Regions from separate parts of the Homo sapiens genome. Here region 1 is linked to region 2. Evidence: promoter capture Hi-C in human tissues and cell types (Jung and others, 2019). All regions are on one chromosome and are shown on one strand. The core of a region is centred on a gene start or on the middle of the fragment in contact, and the rest is flanking DNA. Distances in the headings are between cores, read along the strand shown. Region 1 overlaps NETO2 (neuropilin and tolloid like 2). Region 2 holds the start of SHCBP1 (SHC binding and spindle associated 1).

What was found. The method cuts DNA at HindIII sites, captures the fragments that hold promoters and counts their contacts. A contact is called where the count stands out against the background at its distance.
Region 1: a contact is called between a fragment that was not itself captured here and the fragment with the promoter of SHCBP1 in region 2, in 1 of the 25 tissues and cell types used here (lymphoblastoid cells).

Annotation. Positions count from the first base shown.
Region 1 is chr16:47,132,450-47,135,149 of GRCh38, reverse strand. All of the region lies in intron 1 of NETO2 (neuropilin and tolloid like 2), which reads left to right. Among named protein-coding and RNA genes, the nearest start is that of NETO2, 10 kb to the left of the region's middle. The HindIII fragment of the contact is 4,421 bases long and covers 1-2,700 here.
Region 2 is chr16:46,620,068-46,622,767 of GRCh38, reverse strand. SHCBP1 (SHC binding and spindle associated 1) reads left to right here and starts at 1,389. Exons shown (of 13, transcript NM_024745.5): 1 at 1,389-1,511. The coding sequence starts at 1,409. RefSeq lists enhancers at 1,071-1,657, 1,658-2,246. The HindIII fragment of the contact is 15,901 bases long and covers 1-2,700 here.

The DNA.
Region 1 (2,700 bases), core at 75-2,574, 510 kb before region 2:
GGAAACTGTGTTTATAATGATACAGAATTTAGAATGGATTAATAGTCACAACTGTATTACCAAAAACTGTATCAGTACATCTTTCTATCCCTAATTGCTGTGCAGATTCGCCCTATTCTTTATACGTCGTTTTTATATTTAGTGGCACAGCTCATTTGGTCGATTGAGTTGTGAATAGCTAGTAATTACTTGAGAAAAAAAGAAAACTGTGCAGCCCTCTAAATAAAGTTGAAAAGAATATAATAGGCTATTTGGCCTTGCAACTTTATTTTCAGTATGATTGTTCTGCCTTACTTGTGTATTCTGTGCAAATTTCATAAAGCAGTTATTTTATACAAGCACATTTTTATTGGTCATTGTATACCGTAATTGTGCTGGCACAGTTCATCCCTTTGCCATAGTTGCCGTTGCTGTCTTGCCTTCAGTTTATTGGCCTCTTACATGCCCTGTCTGCTGGCTTTGTGTGGTTATTTGCTTATAGATGGATTTGTAAATGTCAAACTGGTAAATAGTTACACCTGTGATTAAGGAGGAATGGTATACTGCGCACGAAATATTGACCAGTGGCATATGATCTGAATGATATGCCTGGGGAGATAGTGTCTACTAATGAGATAAATTGACACAAATGGTTGGGTTATTTGCTGAATTATCAAATACCTACTATTACCTGACTTTTCTTTTTGATCATAAATCTTCTGTATTAAAAAATGTTTCAAAACTCCATTCTTCTAATCAGATCCAGTGTAAAGATGTGAAGAGTTCAAGATCTCAGCATAACGTGAGATCTTCAACACTACCATCAACCAAAAAAAGGGAAGGGGGAAATTAACGTTATTGAGAAAAGACAGAGGAGACACAGAGGTCAGCAAGGATGCAAGAAACCAAGGATGAAGAGGTCAAAGAATTAGATTTTAAGATACGAACTGAATAACAAGAGCTACCTCTTAACCATTTCTACGTTGGTGACTTTGGTAGTAGACACCCAGTACGTGCTATTGAGTGAACAGTGGTAACTGTCTACCAACCACTTGCACTAGCAGACTCCAGTGCCTCCACCTCCCTCACCCCTCACGTCCTGTAAGTTGCACTTGACTCTACACCTGAACCATGTCATTAGTTTCTCCTCCTTTCCCTTTCCACTGCTACCACTCTGCTTCAAAGATGGTAATGCAAACATGATCACCTTTCCTTCCTAATCTTCTCTCTTCTCATTAAAAGTATAGACCCCACACAACCATTAGGATTATTGGTCTAAAACACAGAAGTGATAATGTCATACACTTGTTTAAAAACCTACAAGGGCTTCTCATTATAGTTAGAAGTCCACACTTTTTAGCATGCCATTCAAAACTTGTTACAATCAGATCTCACCCAACTTTTCTCTAACCTACTATACTGCTGTAGCCTTCCACTTGCCAACCACACTGTATTACTCAGAGTTCCCTAAAACCTGCTGTAGGTTAGAGCTCATGCCTCCATGTTTTTATTTTATTTTATTTTATTTTATTTTATTTTATTTTATTTTATTTTATTTTATTTTATGTTATGTCATTTTATGTTATGTTATTTTATGTTACTTTATGTTATTGAGGCATGGTCTCACTCTTTCGCCCAGGCAGTAGTGCAGTGGCACGATCATGGCTCACTGCAGCCTCTTAACTCCTGGGCACTAGTGATCCTCCTGCCTCAGCCTCCCAAGTGGCTAGGACTATAGGCACATGCCACCATGCCTGGCTAATTTTTTTTTTTTTTTCCGTAGAGACAGGGCCTCTGGAACTCCTGGGCTCAAGCAATCCTCTCGCCTCAGCCTCCCAAGGTGTTGGGATTTGCAGGCATGAGCCACCAGCGCCCTGCCCTCCATGTTCTTATTTAAGCTGTTTCTTTCTCCTTTTCCTGGGCTCAAGGACTGTAAGGTCCAACCAGAGTATGCCTTCTTTTTTGGGAGTTTTCCTCATTCTATTTCCCTTAACCCCCAGCAGAATGGACCTTCTGCTTCCATTATGCCTTCTGCATATCTCCTGTTAAACTCCGTTTCACCTTGTATTGTAGATTCAACAATACATTGATTCCTTGTGGATGCTGGTTTGTCCTAATATCCATCATTTATTTAGCAGAATGTCTGGCACATAAAAATACTATATACATTATCTCATTTAATCTTCACAACCACCAATGAGGTTGACCTATTTATACGTCATCTCCATTTTACAAATAAGTAAACTGAGCTGAAAAGGCCTCACAGCTGGTAGAAGGCAAAACTTGAACCCTAGCCTAGATTCATGAAACTCCTTAAGTCCATACTCTTAACCATTTTGCTCGATTTCTCTCTCCACACCTGTGCATCCTTGGTGCCCGCTCTTCAGTGGATACTCTGTAAGTGCCTATTCACTGAATGAATAACTCCAGTTCACGCAGTAGTTCGGGACAGGCTGGCAGTGTGGTTTCCTTTGAAAGGGAGAGTGCAGCATCCATGAAAATGTTTCTTTAAATCTTCAAACCACATACACAAAACAATTCAATATGTTGTTGATTGGGTCTCAGAAATGTTCAACATGGAAAAAAGCTTCAGTGTTAAATATGGCTAGCCTTTGTAGCACAGAGCACAGCATAGTACTGCACAATGATAAGACAGTTTGAATTGATTTCTAGGAGACTGCTGCCCCCTTACTTCTGTCTTGATTAAGAATGTTCTCAGAA
Region 2 (2,700 bases), core at 140-2,639:
GATTACAGGCATGAGCCACTATGCCTAGCCTGGTTTGAGTAATATCTTGATGGTTGATGAAATATTTGATAATTGGATGAGAAGAGAACTGTGTTGTCTCCAGTGATGCTGCAAATGGGTGAGGAGAAATGCTGCCATTTGTGAGGTTTGTGGGCGGCAAGGTTGAAGAAGAGAATAATGAAAAAGCTAGCGTCATCCTCAAGGCCTGTTGATAGTCTTGATTATTGTTTTCTGTGTTTTTACCTCATGGTGCTCAATATGTATTTGTTCAGTGAGCAAATAAATGTAAGGTCAGATTCTGCAAACAAAAGTCAAAGAAATCTTACTTCCTGGAAAAGTTAGCCCAATTAAGTGCAGCTTTCCAGTCACCCCTCCTGGCTCCATTTTATTTCAGCTGTAAGGGATCCGAGAGACTTTAGCCCAAGGTGTTTCTTCAAAGCAATAAGTGGAAATGTTTCCCCACATTAAGACTGCACAGACGAACTGTCATGACCAGGCTCTTGGTCCCCTGTGGACGCATCCCACTTGGTGTCCTGGTTACCTGGGCTATCTTGGGCTGACCTCATCATTCTAGTAGTGATGGCCTGGCAGAGACATTAAAAGGCTTCTTCATGGAGTCTGGCTGGTTTCACATCCTGGCTTTGCTGGGTTAGATTGGAGAAGTGACTTAACTTCTTAGTGACTCCATTTGCTCATTTGTAAAATGGGTATAGTAATAGCTCCCGTCTCATAGGATCATTGTGAAGATTAAACAGAACAATCCAGGTAACGCATGCAGGAGGGTATCTTGCACACAATATGCAGTAAATGTTAGCCATTATGATGGAGATTATAGTTGTCTTTGATTAATGCAAATTAACAAATTTACTTACTAAATTTAATTTGACATTCTTTGAAAATATGCTCTCTCTCTCTCTCTCTCTCTCTGTGTGTGTGTGTGTGTGTGTGTGTGTATTGAAAGACAGAGAGAGACTGGTGTTTGGTGGTGAAAGTTTTGGGCCCACGTAGGCCAGCATCCTTTTCAGTTGAAGTTGTGCTTGTGGGAGGTGAAATGACTTGCCCAAGGCAATACCACTAGGAATAGCCCAGGTAAGTTTAAATACTATGTTTTTTGACTCTCAACCCAGTGACTTTTCCACTATATCTCATTTCCAGGCATTGCTGGTTCGTTTTTTTCGAAAATCATTCCAAATTATATTCCAATTCGACTTTCTTCAAGTTCATCCCAGAAAAGCAAAGGCCGGGCACTTGAACAAGAACAGCTGTCAGCCTGGGGCGAGGGGGCAGTGTTGGTGGGGGCTGGAGCGGGGCCGGACTCTAATTGGTCCACGGCCTCGGCCCGACTATCAAATCAGCAGAGCCTGCGTCATCACGTCGTTGCCTGGGCTGCCGTCCGCGGAAATTTGAAATGGCTGACGGGTCGCTGACGGGCGGCGGTCTGGAGGCAGCGGCCATGGCGCCGGAGCGCATGGGCTGGGCGGTGGAGCAGGAGCTGGCGTCTCTGGAGAAAGGTGAGCTCTCCATGCCGGGGCCGAGGAGCCGCCTCTGAGCGGAGGCCTGGGGCGTCGGGACCCTAGGAGGGCGCCTGGGTCGCGGGCCTTCCGGACCCGTCTGTCCAGGGTGGCGGGAACGGCGGTGCGCGGCCGGGACCCAGTGACGGGACCTCAAAGTCGGGCGGTACCCAGGGGTGGGGGACTCCCTCTCTTCCCTATCCGCATCTCCCACTCTCCCTGCACTCTCTGGCCTCCGCCCGCCCCGAGGTTGGAGGGAGCTGGATTGGGCCAGGAATTCCCTATCTGGATGGGTTTTGCGGGAACTGTGCATTTACTGTTGCTCAAGGGGCCATTTTTTCATCTGCATCTCAAAGGAGATCACGAACCACACTTCCCTTTTCCGAAGAAGAGAAAAGCTTGAACCCTTGGCTTAGATGGCTGTCCTGTGCACGGAGGGTAGTGACGTGTCCAAAGTGAGGAGCGCCAACTTGGGCCGGAGTCCAGAAATAGAACCGGGGTCTTCTAGTTCTCTGCCCTTTCTTCCTCCTCATAGAGTTTCATTACTATTTTTTTTTTCTGATATTTTAAGCTGGTTCATGTTTTTACGTTAACACTTTCGGTTGTATTGTGTAGCAGAGAGTCCCAACAAAGTGAGAAAACATAAGTGTGACAATTCCACTATTAACCCACCTATCCAACTGGCAAAAGTCACTTGGCTTCAGTTTTCCCATCTGGAAGACTATGCCAATGGTTGTACTTGTGGTGAAGTTGAAGTGAAATAAAGTTTTTAAAGTGGCTGCAAAAATAAATACTGCATGGCATCGCTTATATTGGGAATCTAAAAAAGAGGAAGTTTCAGAAAGAGAGTAGAGTGGTAGTTGCCAGTGGGTTGGGGGAATGGGGAGATGCTGGGCAAAGGGTCCAAAGTTTCAGTTATGCAGTGTGAATAGTTCTGGGGATCTGATGTACATACAGCATGGTGACTATAGTTAATAATACTGTATTATTATTACAGTATTAATAGGCAATGACGTGATGGTGCAATGCGACACAAATTTTGTACTTGAAATTTGCTAACAGAGTAGATCATAAGTGTTCACACCACACACACACAAAAGGTAACTATGCGAGGTGATGGAAATATTAATTCACTTTACTGTGGTAATCATTTCATAATGTATAGGTATATCAAAACATCATGTTACAC